Linked DNA regions of Homo sapiens: all the other regions are linked to region 1. The links are contacts of gene promoters, found by promoter capture Hi-C in human tissues and cell types (Jung and others, 2019). All regions are on one chromosome and are shown on one strand. The core of a region is centred on a gene start or on the middle of the fragment in contact, and the rest is flanking DNA. Distances in the headings are between cores, read along the strand shown. Region 1 holds the start of CDC25A (cell division cycle 25A). Region 2 overlaps PFKFB4 (6-phosphofructo-2-kinase/fructose-2,6-biphosphatase 4). Region 3 overlaps SHISA5 (shisa family member 5). Region 4 overlaps MAP4 (microtubule associated protein 4). Region 5 holds the start of COL7A1 (collagen type VII alpha 1 chain).

The links. The method cuts DNA at HindIII sites, captures the fragments that hold promoters and counts their contacts. A contact is called where the count stands out against the background at its distance.
Region 2: a contact is called between a fragment that was not itself captured here and the fragment with the promoter of CDC25A in region 1, in 2 of the 25 tissues and cell types used here (IMR-90 fibroblasts and pancreas).
Region 3: a fragment that was not itself captured here is called in contact with the fragment with the promoter of CDC25A in region 1 in 1 of the 25 tissues and cell types used here (H1 embryonic stem cells).
Region 4: a contact is called between a fragment that was not itself captured here and the fragment with the promoter of CDC25A in region 1, in 2 of the 25 tissues and cell types used here (aorta and mesenchymal stem cells).
Region 5: a contact is called between the fragment with the promoter of COL7A1 here and the fragment with the promoter of CDC25A in region 1, in 1 of the 25 tissues and cell types used here (lymphoblastoid cells).

What each region holds. Positions count from the first base shown.
Region 1 is chr3:48,187,018-48,189,754 of GRCh38, forward strand. CDC25A (cell division cycle 25A) reads right to left here and starts at 1,400. Exons shown (of 15, transcript NM_001789.3): 1 at 761-1,400. The coding sequence starts at 930. RefSeq lists an enhancer at 485-1,113 and a silencer at 857-1,066. The HindIII fragment of the contact is 16,525 bases long and covers 1-2,737 here.
Region 2 is chr3:48,526,167-48,528,886 of GRCh38, forward strand. The region is part of intron 9 of PFKFB4 (6-phosphofructo-2-kinase/fructose-2,6-biphosphatase 4); the gene reads right to left. Among named protein-coding and RNA genes, the nearest start is that of MIR6823, 22 kb to the right of the region's middle. The HindIII fragment of the contact is 3,007 bases long and covers 1-2,720 here.
Region 3 is chr3:48,487,331-48,490,286 of GRCh38, forward strand. All of the region lies in intron 2 of SHISA5 (shisa family member 5), which reads right to left. Among named protein-coding and RNA genes, the nearest start is that of SHISA5, 15 kb to the right of the region's middle. The HindIII fragment of the contact is 5,851 bases long and covers 1-2,956 here.
Region 4 is chr3:47,885,549-47,888,253 of GRCh38, forward strand. All of the region lies in intron 10 of MAP4 (microtubule associated protein 4), which reads right to left. Among named protein-coding and RNA genes, the nearest start is that of MIR1226, 37 kb to the left of the region's middle. The HindIII fragment of the contact is 3,092 bases long and covers 1-2,705 here.
Region 5 is chr3:48,593,959-48,596,658 of GRCh38, forward strand. It overlaps COL7A1 (collagen type VII alpha 1 chain), which reads right to left and starts at 1,371. Exons shown (of 119, transcript NM_000094.4): 1 at 1,310-1,371; 2 at 1,117-1,202; 3 at 410-590. The coding sequence starts at 1,201. The HindIII fragment of the contact is 15,548 bases long and covers 1-2,700 here.

The DNA.
Region 1 (2,737 bases), core at 150-2,649:
GGCAAATGTTGGGGTATTTCCTAAAATAAAAGCATGTGTTCTAAGTACTGAGACAGAGTCGGGATGAAAGTTGAACAGGACACTTTCTGCTTTTCAGAAGTTGGGAAACGCACAAGACATGTGCTTAGCAAACGGGATGCCAGAGATTGAAGGGAAAGTAGCTCTTCCGCGGGAAACACCGTGGGATGCATTTTTTGCTATCAGGAAAAGCCCAGGAAGCTTTCTGAAAGTTGGGTAAAAAGACCTGGCCTTAGGAAAGCAGCAGAGTGGACATCAGGAATGTGCACAGGGCGAGGGACTGAGATGATTTTACATAAACGCCAGGAAAGAAAATGCCATGGTCCTTTGTTGAGAAGGAACAAAGATCACAGCAAACGAAGATCCTGAGGATGGTTTAGCAAAGGGTGAAAGTGAGTGCCTAGAAGAGCCTGATTTTCCCCGCGGGGGTAGATTCCAAAGAGCTTCCAGGGATAGAGATAGAAGGAGAGTACGGAGCAATCCGAAAGGGGTGAAGGTGGGCCTGGCTCGGGCTTAGGCCCAAGGATCTCCACCTCTTCCCCTGGAAGGTCCCGACGGCCTCTCCCGCCCAACATTCCGCCCGGGCGGGGGTGCACATGGCAGGCCCTAGCCCGGCTGTCCCCGAGCGGCGAACCCGGACGGACGGGTCTCGCCCTTCTCCCGGTCCGTTTCCTGGCCTGATCTCTCCGAGGCCGACACCGAGGCCAGGGGCCCGGAGCACCGCCCGCCGGTCTCTCCTTACCTGCCCAGACCCTGCAGCTGGTCCATAGTGACGGTCAGGTTGGTGACAGGCGACAGTCCCCCGGCGGCTGAAGCGCCAAATAGCGCCTTCACGACGGGCTGCGACGCGGGAGGGGGGCTGCAGGCGAAGAGCAGGCGGCGGCGGTGCGGGGGCTCCGGGCCCAGTTCCATGGCGGCGCCCGGCCTCGCAGAGCTCCCGCTCCCTCTTCCTCTGCCTCCGCCGCGACCGCCCCGCCCCGCCGACACCGGCCTCGGCCGCGCGCCACCGGCGCCCGCGGGTCAAACACAAACACGACTCCGCGGTTCAGGGACGCGGCTGCCGCGGGCAAGCGGCGCGGCCGGGCGGGTGTGCGGACCCTCCAGGCGCCAGCCACCAGCCACAGGCACGGGTGCTTCCCTCTCACACCGCGAGGCCAGCGGGCGGGCGGGCGCCGGCAACCTGAAGATTAAATCCAAACAAACGTGGCGGGTCGGCAAGAGAAGCCGGGCGAGAGCCTCGAGGCAACGGCCCAGGCTCACGCTGTCTTCGCTGTTCTCCCACCCGCTTGCCCAGCTCCGGGTAGCAGAAAACCAAGCCGACCTACACCTCTTACCCAGGCTGTCGCAGCCAGGCCGGCCTTTCGCGGTAATAGCGGCTCAGTGGGGCCAGCTGCTGCCCCGCCCCCCTTTCCTAGTTGGCGCCAAACGGAATCCACCAATCAGTAAGCAACTTCTCCTCCTCTCAACCGAATGGCAGCTAGGCTGGGCCAATGAGAGGGGAAGAAGAAAGCGGCTCGCGGGACTCTGCCAGGTCATCGGCTCTCAGAAGGGGGCGGAGCCCAGAGCAGAAGAGCGGGGATCAAAATGAGAGGGGGAGCAGAGGTCAATGAAAACTCCCAGCAGAACCTGCGAGGCGCTGCTCGCGGCTGAAAGGCCCCTTTGCCCCGTCGCATGCTGGGAAGCGTAGTTCCCATCGCGAGCTGCCGTCCAGTTAGCTTCGGCCCCCTTTGGGCCTCCGCTACCTCGCCCCCAGCCGGGCGCCCCACACTCTGAGGCAATGTGGAGGCTAAGGAAGACCTGTGGAGGTCTGGCCGGATCCAGCCTTGGCTCGGCCTCTAACCGTGCAGTATTGTGGACCCCTTTCTTCCGCCCCGGGCCTCCAGGCCCCATTTTATAATGAGGGAGGGAATGCAATGACCCCCAGGACTGGACTCGACCACCAGGGCCCAACTCTGGAGGGCTCACAGACCCTGGGTGCTGCTGGCCTCATGGGATTTGAACCCCGCAGTACAACCTGTGCTGTGGGCCTCAGCATTTTTTGCTCACTTCCATTCTAGCCCTTATTGGATGCTCTTAGAATCATTTCTTTCTTTCCCACCACTTCTTAGCCCCCTGGGAGCTCCTAGAGAGAAATAACAGCAAACACAATAATAGCAAATAATAGCTAAAGTTTACATAATGCTTATGCACTTGACACTGTTCCCAGTGTGTTAATCTGTATTAATTCATTTAATCTTTACAACTCTGTGACATAGGAATTATCCCCATTTTCTAAGTGGGCATATTTACTTTTACAGCGCCGAACCTGTGGCAGCTCCTAGACGGATTTTGAGGGCCATAAGTGCATGATTTAATTGCAACCTACTGCTGGGCTTAGTGGCTCACGCCTATCATCCCAGCACTTTGGGAGGGCGAGGTGGGAGGATTGCCTGAGCCCACGAATTTGAGACCAGCCTGGGCAACAAAGTGAGACACCCCCTGCCCCCCACTCAAAAAAAAAAAACCCTACAGTTTGAAAAGCCATGCTGGACAGGTGGAAACCCCAAACCTTTGGCCCCAACACCAGACCCTTCACAGTGAGGAACCTCTCTCTCAGGATTCATCTCCTTTTCTGTGCACCAGTGCTCCACCACCCAGGAACCTCCCTTCCCTCCAGAAACCCCAGGCTATTTAGGCCTCTCTGCACAGTTCACATGGTCTGTGGTCCCACTGTTTCAAA
Region 2 (2,720 bases), core at 104-2,603, 340 kb after region 1:
GGCCAACATGGTGGAGGAGGCAGTGGTTGCAGTGGGCTGAGATTGTGCCACTGCACTCCAGCCTGGGCAACAGAGAGAGACTCCCTCTCAAAAGAAAAGAAAAAAAAAGAAAAGTTGGCTGGGCGTGGTGGCTCACAGCTCACAGCCTGTAATCCCAGCACTTTGGGAGGCTGAGGCAGGTGGATCACCTGAGATCAGGAGTTCAAGGCCAGCATGGTCAACATGATGAATCCCCGTCTCTACTAAAAATACAAAAATTAGTTGGGCGTGGTGGCGCACGCCTGTAGTCCCAGCTACTCAGGAGGCTGAAGCAGGAGAATCGCATGTACCCAAGAGGTGGAGATTGCAGTGAGCCAAGATTACGCCACTGCACTCCAGCCTGGGGAAGAGAATGAGACTCTGTCTCAAAAAAAAAAAAAAAAAGATGGGGACATATTGGATTAGAGTGGGTCCTAAATCCAGTCATTGGTGTCCTTTTAAGAACGCCATGTAGGCCGGGCACAGTGGCTCATGCCTGTAATCCCAGCACTTTGGGAGGCTGAGGCAGGTGGATCATGAGGTCAGGAGTTTGAGACCAGCCTGGCCAATATGGTGAAACCCCGTCTCTACTAAAAAAATACAAAAATTAGCCAGGCGTGGTGGCTCACGCCTGTAGTCCCAGCTACTTGGGAGGCTGAGGCAGAAGAATCTCTTGAACCCGGGAGGCAGAGATTGCAGGGAGCTGAGATCATGCCACTGCACTCCAGCCTGGGTGACAGAGCGAGACTCCATCTCAAAAAAAAAAAAAAAAAGAATGTCATGTGAAGGCACAGACAGACATACATAGGGAAGAAAGCCATGTGATGACCGTGGACAGAGGTGGGATTGGAGTGATGAGGCTATGAGCCAAGAAATACCAAGGATTACCAGCAACAACTGGAAACTAGGAAGAGGTGAGGAAGCGTTCTTTATTAGCACCTTCAGAGGGAGCATGGCCCCGCTGACGCCTTGATTTCAGACTTCTAGCCTCCAGAACTGTGAGAGAATCAATTCATGTTGTTTTAAGCCACTCACCTGTAGTGCTTTGTTACGGCAGCCCTAGTAAACTAATACTTTTTTTTTTTTTAACATTTAGTGGTTTTTTTTTTTTTTTTGAGACAGTCTTACTCTGTCACACAGGCTGGAGTCCAGTGGTGTGATCTTGGCTCACTGCAGCCTCAAACTTCCCAGGCTCAGGTGATCCTCCCACCTCAGCCTCCCAAGTAGCTGGGACTACAGGTGTGCGCCACCACACTTGAATACTAACACATATTTTGGTACCAGGAGGTGAAGTGCTGCTGGCTGCTGTAATAAAGAACTAAAAATGTGGAAGTGGTTATGAAATGGGATAGTGGGTAGAGGCTGGAAGAATTTTGTGGTGCATGATAAAAAGCTTAGACTGTCTTGAAGAGACTGTTAGTAGAAATTTAGACATTAAAGATTATTCTGGTGAAGGCACAGAAGGAAGTGAAGAGGATGACAGAGAAAGCGTCCATCATCTTTTTTTTTTTTTTTTTTTTTGAGACAGGGTCTCACTCTGTTGCCCAGGCTGGAGTGCAGTGGTGCAATCTCAGCTCACTGCAACCTCTGCCTCCCATGTTTAAACAATTCTCCTGCCTCAGCCTCCTGAGTAGCTGGGATTACAGGCACAGGCCACCATGGCTGGCTAATTTTTTGTATTTTTAGTAGAGACGGGGTTTCGCCATGTTGACCAGGCTGGTCTCGAACTCCTGGCCTCATGTGATCTGCCCATCTCGGCCTCCCAAAGTGCTGGGATTACAGTCATGAGCCACTACGCCCGGCCAGCTTCCACCATCGTAAAGAGCACATATATCATCATGAAAAGAACGTTGATAGAAATATGAACATTAAAGGTGCCTCTGTGAGCCCACAAGGGGAAATGAGGTACCTTTTCCTGGACCCTAGAGAAAAGGTAATCCATGTTATAAAGTGGCAGAGAATGTGGCTAAACTGAGTTCCCATGTTGGACGGCTACAACCAAGACTGATGGTAACAAGCGCAGGCGGGTATGTGGAGAAATCAGAGCCCTCACACACTGCGGGAGGGAATGTGAGATGGCGAAACAGTGTGGCAGTTTCTGAAAAGGTTGAATGTATAATTACCATATGACCCAGCAATTCTACTCCTAGCGTACAGTGAGGAGAAATAAAAATATAAGTCCGCACAAAAACTTATGCCGGATGCGGTGGCTCATGTCTGTAATCCCAGCACTTTGGGAGGCCAAGGCAGGTAGATCTCTTGAGCCCAGGAGTTTGAGACCAGCCTGGGCAACATGATGAAACCCCATCTCTACAAACAAATACAAAAATTAGCTGGGTGTGGTGGCGAGTTCCTGTAGTCCCAGCTACTTGGGAGACAGAGGTGGGAGGATTGCTTGAGCCCAGGAGATGGAGGCTGCAGTGAGCTAAGATCGTGCTACTGCACTCAGCCTGGGCAACAAAGCAAGACCCTGTCTCAAACAAACAAACATAGAAAACACCTTGGACATGAATGTTCACAGCAGCATTATCCACATAGCCCAAAAGTGGCAACAACTCAAATGCCCATCAACTGATGAATGGATACATAATGTGTGGTATATTTATATAATAGGATGTTATTTGGCAATGTAAAGGAATGAAATACTGCTACATGCTACACGAATAAACCTTGAAAACATTAGTGGTAGCTTAAGGCAGAAG
Region 3 (2,956 bases), core at 134-2,633, 300 kb after region 1:
ATAGTTTATATAGTTACATAGTTTATATGCTTTATGAACATACAGTTTATACGTTTTAATGTTTATAGTTTGTATGTTTATATGTTTTATAAATACACAGTTTGTATGTTTTACAGTTTATGGTTCATAGTTTTCTGTGTAGAAATTTTGTCTTTCCTAGGTATTTGATGTTTTTGATGCTATTGGAAACGTCTTTTGAAATTATATTTTTAATTAGAAGTTTAATAGATTTTTTTACTATACTGACCTTGTATGTCTCACACACACAAAAAAAGAAATACCAGCTGGGCGCAGTGGCTCACATCTGTAATCCCAGCACTTTGGGAGGCCAAGGTGGGTGAATCACCTGAGGTAAGGAGTTCAAGGCCAGCCTGGCCAACATAGCAAAACCCTGTCTACTAAAAATACCAAAAAAATTATCTGGGCATGGTGGCACATGCCTGTAACCCAAGTTGCTTGGGAGGCTGAGGTAGGAGAATCGCTTGAACCTGGGAGGCAGAGGTTGCAGTGAGCCAAGATCATGCCACTGCACTCCAGCCTGGGCAACAGAGTGAGACTCCGTCTCAAAAAACCAAACCAAACCAAAACAAAACAAAACAAAAGAAGTACCCATGGGGGATATTTCTTTAGATGTTAAACAAAACAAAATTTAAAAGCATTATAAACAATTATACCCTAATACATTTGAAGGAAAACCAGTGAAGCTAAGGAGAAAAATTTGCCTTAAAATACTGAAATTATCAGACACTGACATTAGAATAACAACACATACACTGTTTAAAGATTACACAGTGAGATTAAAGGAAAAAAGAGCTTAAAGAGATTAAACAAAAGATTGAGCAATTCAGAGGAAAACTTGAAATATATGGGATACTTAGTGTTGAAGGAGCAGCTTGGATCCTCTTGACTGCTTTTTTTTTTTTTTTTTTTTTTTGTGAGACAGAGTCTTGCTTGTAGCCCAATCTCGACTCAATGCAAGCTCCGCCTCCCTGGTTCACGCCATTCTCCTCCCTTAGCCTCCCGAGTAGCTGGGACTACAGGTGCCCACCACCATGCCCGGCTAACTTTTTGTATTTTTAGTAGAGATGGGGTTTCACCATGTTAGCCAGGATGGTCTTGATCTCCTGACCTCATGATCCGCCTACCTTGGCCTCCCAAAGTGCTGGGATTACAGGCGTGAGCCACCGCACCCAGCCAACTGCTTATAGTAAAATGTGAAAAGGCCGGGCGCGGTGGCTCACGCCTGTAATCCCAGCACTTTGGGAGGCCAAGGCGGGCAGATCACCTGATGTCGGGAGTTCGAGACCAGCCTGGCCAACATGGAGAAACCCCGTCTCTACTAAAAACACAAAATTAGCCGTGCGTGGTGGCACATGCCTGTAATCCCAGCTACTAGGGAGGCTGAGGCAGCAGAATCACTTGAACCCGGGAGGTGGAGGTTGCGGTGAGCTGAGCTCATGCCATTGCACTCCAGCCTGAGCAACAAGAGCGAAACTCCGTCTCAAAAAAAAAAAAAAAAAAGTGAAAAAAGAGAAATGAATTGTTAAGCAAAAAAAGAACTAGAATTTAAAAATCTGGACAATTCTCAGCCTATCCATACTGTAAATACTAAGAGAGTAGTCCAAAAACTGCGAGGTAAGGAGATTAGAATGGGTATGAATCACAGACCTAATCAGTCACCCTAGCACCTGCCAGAGGGGAGAAAGGGGATGAAGTGAAGGAAGGCTGTCGGACATCTAAGATCCTACAGGACTGGGCCATAGAGCAAGCTTGTCCAACCTGTGACCAGCGGCCCACATTCAGGCCAGGATGGCTTTGAATGTGGCCCAACACAAATTCTTAAACTTTCTTAAAACATTATGAGATTTTTTTTTTTTTTTTTTTGCTCATCAGCTATCATTAGTGTGTTTTATGTGTGGCCCAAGACAATTTTCTTCTTCCAAAGTGGCCCAGAGAAGGCAAAAGATTGGACACCCCTGCTACAGCTATTTTTTTATTTTTTTATTTTTTAGCCAGAGTCTCACTCTGTCACCCAAGCTGGAGTGCAGTGGCATGATCTCAGCTCACTGCAAGCTCTGCCTCCCGGGTTCACGCCATTCCTGCCTCAGTCTCCTGAGTAGCTGGCACTACAGGCGCCCGCCACCATGCCTGGCTAACTTTTTCTATTTTGTTCAGCAGAGACGGGGTTTCACCATGTTAGCCAGGATGGTCTCGATCTCCTGACCTTGTGATCCGCCCGCCTCGGCCTCCCAAAGTGCTGGGATTACAGGCTTGAGCCACTGCGCCTGGCCTTTTTTTTTTTTTTTTTTTTTTTTGAGACAGGGTCTCACTCTGCCACCCAAGCTGGAGTGCAGTAGTGTGATCACAGCTCACTGCAACCTTGATCTCCTAGGCTCAAGCAATCCTCCCACCTCAGCCTCCTGAGTAGCTGGGGCTACAAGTGCATGCTACCATGCCCAGCTAACTAAAAAAAAAAAATCATGGAGACGAGGTCTCACTATATTGCCCAGGCTGGTCTTGAACTCCTGGGCTCAAGCAATCCTCCCATCTCAGCCTCTCAAAGTACTGGGATTAAAGGCGTCAGCCATCATGCTTGGCAGCGCTATTTTCAAGGTGCAGTGTTCTTAAAGACAAGAAAAGGACCTCAAAGACAATTCAATCATCAAGGCTGCCACTCCCACCACAGGCCCAGAGTGCACAGGCCGGAACCAGGTTGCCGCCACCTCCGTTTTTTTTGTTGTTGTTGCTTTTTTTCTGAGACGGAGTTTTGCTCTTGCCACCCAGGCTGGCTGGAGTGCAATGGCGCAATCTCGGTTCACTACAACCTCCACCTCCTGGGTTCAAGCGATTCTCCTGCCTCAGCCTCCCAAGTAGCTGGGATTACAGGCATGCGCCACCATACCCAGCTATTTTTGCATTATTAATACAGATGGGGTTTCTCTATGTTGGTCAGGCT
Region 4 (2,705 bases), core at 164-2,663, 300 kb before region 1:
AAAACAATGAGATGATACCATCTTGTCTTGGTAGGAGGTTTTTGTAATGGAGAGCACTTTGTACTTTTTGATGTTTGAACCATATGTACTTTTAGTCAAAAACTGAGTATTTTTCTAGTTTTAAAATGTAATGGGGAAAAACCATAGCCAACAACTGTGCAAATTTGTTAACGCCTTTGTTCTTTTTTTTTTTTTTTTGAGACGGAATCTCGCTCTGTCACCCAGGCTGGAGTGCAGTGGCGCCATCTCGGCTCACTGCAAGCTCCGCCTCCTGGGTTCATGCCATTCTCCTGCCTCAGCCTCCCGAGTAGCCGGGACTACAGGCGCCTGCCACCACGCCCAACTAATTCTTTGCATTTTTAGTAGAGTTGGGGTTTCGCTGTGTTAGCCAGGATGGTCTCGATCTCCTGACCTCATGATCCGCCCGCCTCGGCCTCCCAAAGTGTTGGGATTACGGGCGTGAGCCACCGCGCCCGGCTAATGCCTTTGTTCTACAGCAAGCTCAAAGAAGATCTTACTTGTGTAACTAGCTGCCACTGGCCCCAGACCACTATAAATATTTTTCAATAAGTTCAGCATTTTTCAGTAAACAACATATTTCATAAAGTCGCATTGTCTATGATACAGGCATGCAGTAACTCGACCTATACAAATAAATGTAACTGTGCATAAGCAGAAACTGCTTTCTCTCTCCCAGAAGGTAGTTCTCACCAAGCCCTTTCCCTTGTCTCATGGATATATAAGGCAACTTCTTTTTTGTTGTTTGTTTTGAGACCTGATCTTGATCTATCTCCCAGGCTGGAGCACAGTGGCATGATCTTGGCTCACTGCAGCCTTGTCCTTTTGGGCTCGAGCAATCCTCCCACCTCAGCCTCCCAAACAGTTGGGACTATAGGTACATGCCACTATGCCCACCTAATTTTTGTATTTTTCCATAGAGATGGGTTTTTTGCCATGTTGCTCAGGCTGGTCTCAAACTCCTGGCCTCAAGTAATCTGCCTGCCAAGGCCTCCCAAAGTGCTGAGATTACAGGCATGAGCCACCAAGCCCAGCTATCAGGCAATTTCTAGAGACCACCACCCACATATCCCCAGAGTTTCACAAAAGCAATGTCTGATGTGGAACTTACTAACTCCTTCAATGAACTGTGCTCTTCTGTTGGGTCTTTCCATTACCTATACTACCACTGGCTGGGAAAACCAGCCTCACATCACAGCATGACCTTCAATTCCTTTTTCTCACACACCTTCCAAATTCCAGTTTCACTTTATCTTCACCTGTTATATTTCCCCTCTCATATCCTCAGCGTTTCATCTGCCACTACCTGAATCAAATTTCTAACAGGATTGTTTGCTTTCAACTCTTTGTCTTCCAGTTCATCACACTTACTGAGAACAAGTAAATCTTCCTAAAGCTGACCTGGAGCTACTTTATCTGCTATCATAGGCAGTCACCACAGTTTCAGAACATGGTAGTGAGAGGTGACAGCGTGCTGGCAGTCCTCAGAGCCCTCGCTTGCTCTCGGCGCCTCCTCTGCCTGGGTTCCCACTTTGGCGGCACTTGAGGGGCCCTTTGGCCCGCCGCTGCACTGTGGGACCCCCTTTCTGGGCTGGCCAAGGCCAGAGCCAGCTCCCTCAGCTTGCAGGGAGGTGTGGAAGGAGAGGCGCGAGCAGGAACCGGGGCTGCGCGCAGCACTTGCGGGTCAGCTGGAGTTCCGGGTGGGCGTGGGCTTGGTGGGCCCCGCACTTGGAGCAGCCAGCCAGCCCTGCTGGCCCCGGGCAATGGGGGACTTAGCACCCGGGCCAGTGGCTGCAGAGGGTGTACTGAGTCCCCCAGCAGTGCCGGCCCATAAGTGCTGCGCTCGATTTCTCACTGAGCCTTAGCTGCTTTCCCGCGGGGCAGGGCTCGGGACCTGCAGCCCGCCATGCCTCAGCCTCCCACCCCTCCATGGGCTCCTGTGCCGCCCGAGCCTCCCTGACAAGCACCACCCCCTGCTCCACGGCGCCCAGTCCCATCAACCACCCAAAGGCTGAGGAATGCGAACGCACCACGGCGCAGGACTGGCAGGCAGCTCCACCTGCAGCCCCAGTGCGAGATCCACTAGGTGAACCCAGCTGGGCTCCTGAGTCTGGTGGGGACGTGGAGAGTCTTTATATCTACCTCAGGGATTGTAAATACACCAATCAGCACCCTGTGTTTAGCTCAAGGTTTGTGAATCCACCAATCGACACTCTGTATCTAGCTGCTCTGGTGGGGCCTTGGAAAACCTTTATGTCTAGCTCAGGGATTGTAAATACACCAATCGGCACTCTGTATCTAGCTCAAGGTTTGTAAACACACCAATCAGCACCCTGTGTTTAGCTCAAGGTTTGTGAATGCACCAATCGACACTCTGTATCTAGCTGCTCTGGTGGGGCCTTGGAGAACCTCTGCATCTAGCTCAAGGTTTGTAAACACACCAATCAGCACCCTGTGTTTAGCTCAAGGTTTGTGAGTGCACCAATCGACACTCTGTATCTAGCTGCTCTGGTGGGGCCTTGGAGAATCTGTGTGTCGAAACTCTGTATCTAACTAATCTGATGGGGACACGGAGAACCTTTGTATCTAGCTCAGGGATTGTAAACGCACCAATCAGTGCCCTGACAAAACAGGCCACTCGGCTCTACCAATCAGCAGGATGTGGGTGGGCCCAGATAAGAGAATAA
Region 5 (2,700 bases), core at 121-2,620, 410 kb after region 1:
GCTTAATTAAATAATTGCAGGAGGAGGGGTCCAGATGTAGGAAAGTGGATGCTGGCCAGATGGAGCACCTCTGGTGAACGGCTGCAAGGGTTAGAGGGCTAGAACGTGGAGAATCCAACAGGCGTGGGGGCCCCCTCCTGGGCTCCCCATCTCCAGATCAGAAAACACAGCCTCACTGTCTTGCACCTTCCTGTCTTGCAGTAGCCTGGAGGTGCCTCAGGGCACGAAGGTTCTACCTAGGGAATCCTTACCTCTGTCTCCAAAGGAGGTCCTGGCTAGGGGGTCTCTAGGTTCCCCAAAACTTGTTTCTGCAAAGACCTGGCCTGGGGTTTCCAGGGTCTCCTCCCTCTCTGGGGAAGGAGTCTTGGTGGGGATCTCGTGGTCCCCAGCCCCCAGGGCCCCTACTCACCGTGGGTCATCGCTGTACTGCACTGTGGCAAAGCGCACACCCTGTGCACTGGCTGCTCCAGAGAAAGGCAGCACCAGCCCTTCGAGAAAGCTGCGGACCTCGCGGAAATTGCTGCGGCCAATGGATGAGGAGCCATCCAGTAAGAACACAATGTCAGCGGCGTAAAGGCGCGTGCAGGTCACTGGGGCGGGCAGGAGAGATCAGGGCCTCTTCTGGGAGGCCAACCACCCGCCTACCCGCACGGTGGCCTCACTGGGACTTGGGATGGTGGGGAGAGTAGGCCTCATCTTATGCAAACCAGGGCCGAATCGGCCTGAGCCTGAGGGCCTTGGAGGGAGTTGAGCTCGGTGGGTCCCAGAGCAGACTCCCGCGGAGGGTTGGGGGTGTGCGGGGGAGGGAGAGTCGCCAGCACGGGTGTGGACTTGGGACTGAGGTCAGCCTCTAGGGGCCGGCGTGGATTGGCATAAGGCAGGGGACCCCGCACGCATCCAGGGAGCCAGAATTTGGGTAGGAACAGGATAGGAGGCGGTTTAGGGAACCCAGCACCGATCGCGGAGGGTTCGGGGAGTCCCAGAATTAGGAGGAATCCGCGGGGCGTCGTGGAGTTGGCTGGGTTGTGGGCGGGGGGTGTTGGGGATGAAGGCCGAGTGGAGCGGAGGGTGGCACGGTGCAGTGCCCCGGGCCGGGTCCTCCCTTGCGGTGCCCACCTCTCTCCCTGTGCTGGGCTCGCACTCGGGGCGCCTCTGCCAGGATCCCGGCGCAGAGCGCGGCCACCAGAAGCCGCAGCGTCATCCTAGGCAGTAAAAGCCGTCAGCTAGGACCCCCGCCTCTGTCCCTTGCTCCCCCGTGGCCTTGGCAGGTCCGAGCCCAGCGCCCCTCCAGCCCGAGTCCTGGTCTTGCCTGCGCGTCCGCCCGCTCCCGCCGCCGCCGCTGCAGTCTCTCGGGCAGAGCAGAGAAAAGTCCCTGATCTCGGGGGGCGGAGCGGCAGGCGGGAACCCAGGCACCCGCCCTCACCCATATCCCTGAGAGGTCGCCGCCCCCCCCACCCCTCCCCCAGACAAACGATATGACGCACTTAACTATAAACCCCCCGACCCCCCGTGGCTTCTGGGAATTTCCCAGAAGGTTCTGCATGGGCAGATGCTGAGGGAGTACCCCTAACTCCATCTAAGGTCACAGGTCTTGGCTGCTTTAGGTCAATCACAGTGACCAGGCTGAGGAGTGGACAGGTTCCTGCAGAGCCACAAGGCAGCAGCGCCGTGGGGGGTGGGGCTGCAGTTGGGGATGACTCACCCCCAATCCAGTGGGGGTGCCCAGACAAGCCCTCAGGCCATGGGTCCCGCCGGCCACTCCTGTGATTCAGCCATCTGTCTGGTGGGCCTCCTGGGCCCCACCCGGATCTCCTTGACAGGCAAGAAGCCCTGGCAAATGAGTGACTCTGGGCCGGTCTTAGGGAAACCAAGGTCCCCTTGGCCTGGATCCAAGTAACTCACCCCCTCTTTGTAGGGGATAAGCCGGAAGGAGGAGAGAACCTGTGTCATGCTTATGCATACATCCCAGTGTCCCACATCCCCTACCATGTCACAGGCAGATGCAATCCAGCTGTGCCTGCAGGGAGGGGGCCGCCCATCTGTGGAGGGCGGGACCACCCACAGTGACAGCTCATCTCTCAGGAATCGAGCCCTCCATGCCCCAGGCCAGGTCCCCCTACCTACATGTCCTCACCCACAGGCATCCTCTCCTTCCATCTACTTTTCTTGTAGGTCCCTGCCACCCATCTCCCCTACCAGGCCGAGGTCCCCTTGGGCCCCTTCCTCCTTTCCTCACTGCCCTCATGGTACCTGTAGCTTCCAGCTTCATAACTGCCCCCTACCTTACTCCTGTCCCCTTACCCAGGCTGACTTCACACCCTCCCCCAGCTTCGCTTCTGAGGCTGTGGACAGTCCTCCAACACACACCACGCCAGGGCCACTGTCCGAAGGAGGTGGGGCTCTGTATATGCATATCTCTCCATTAGATGGGTGACACTAAGGCAGAGAGGCACTGCTAAGAAGGGCAGGCCCCCATCTGGGTCCTGCTCCCCCTTTTTTTCCTGCTAATCCTGAATAACTCTGGGCAGCCCAGAAAGCACATCTATACTCACCAAGGCTGCTGGGCCCCTTCTAATATGCCCGGCCCCACAGCCTCCCCTGGGATCCACAGGGAGATATGGGGACAGCACTGGCTGGACTCCTCCACAGCCCGAGGACTCTGGTGTGGCCAGAGCTGGAGGCAGTGAAGACCATCCATGC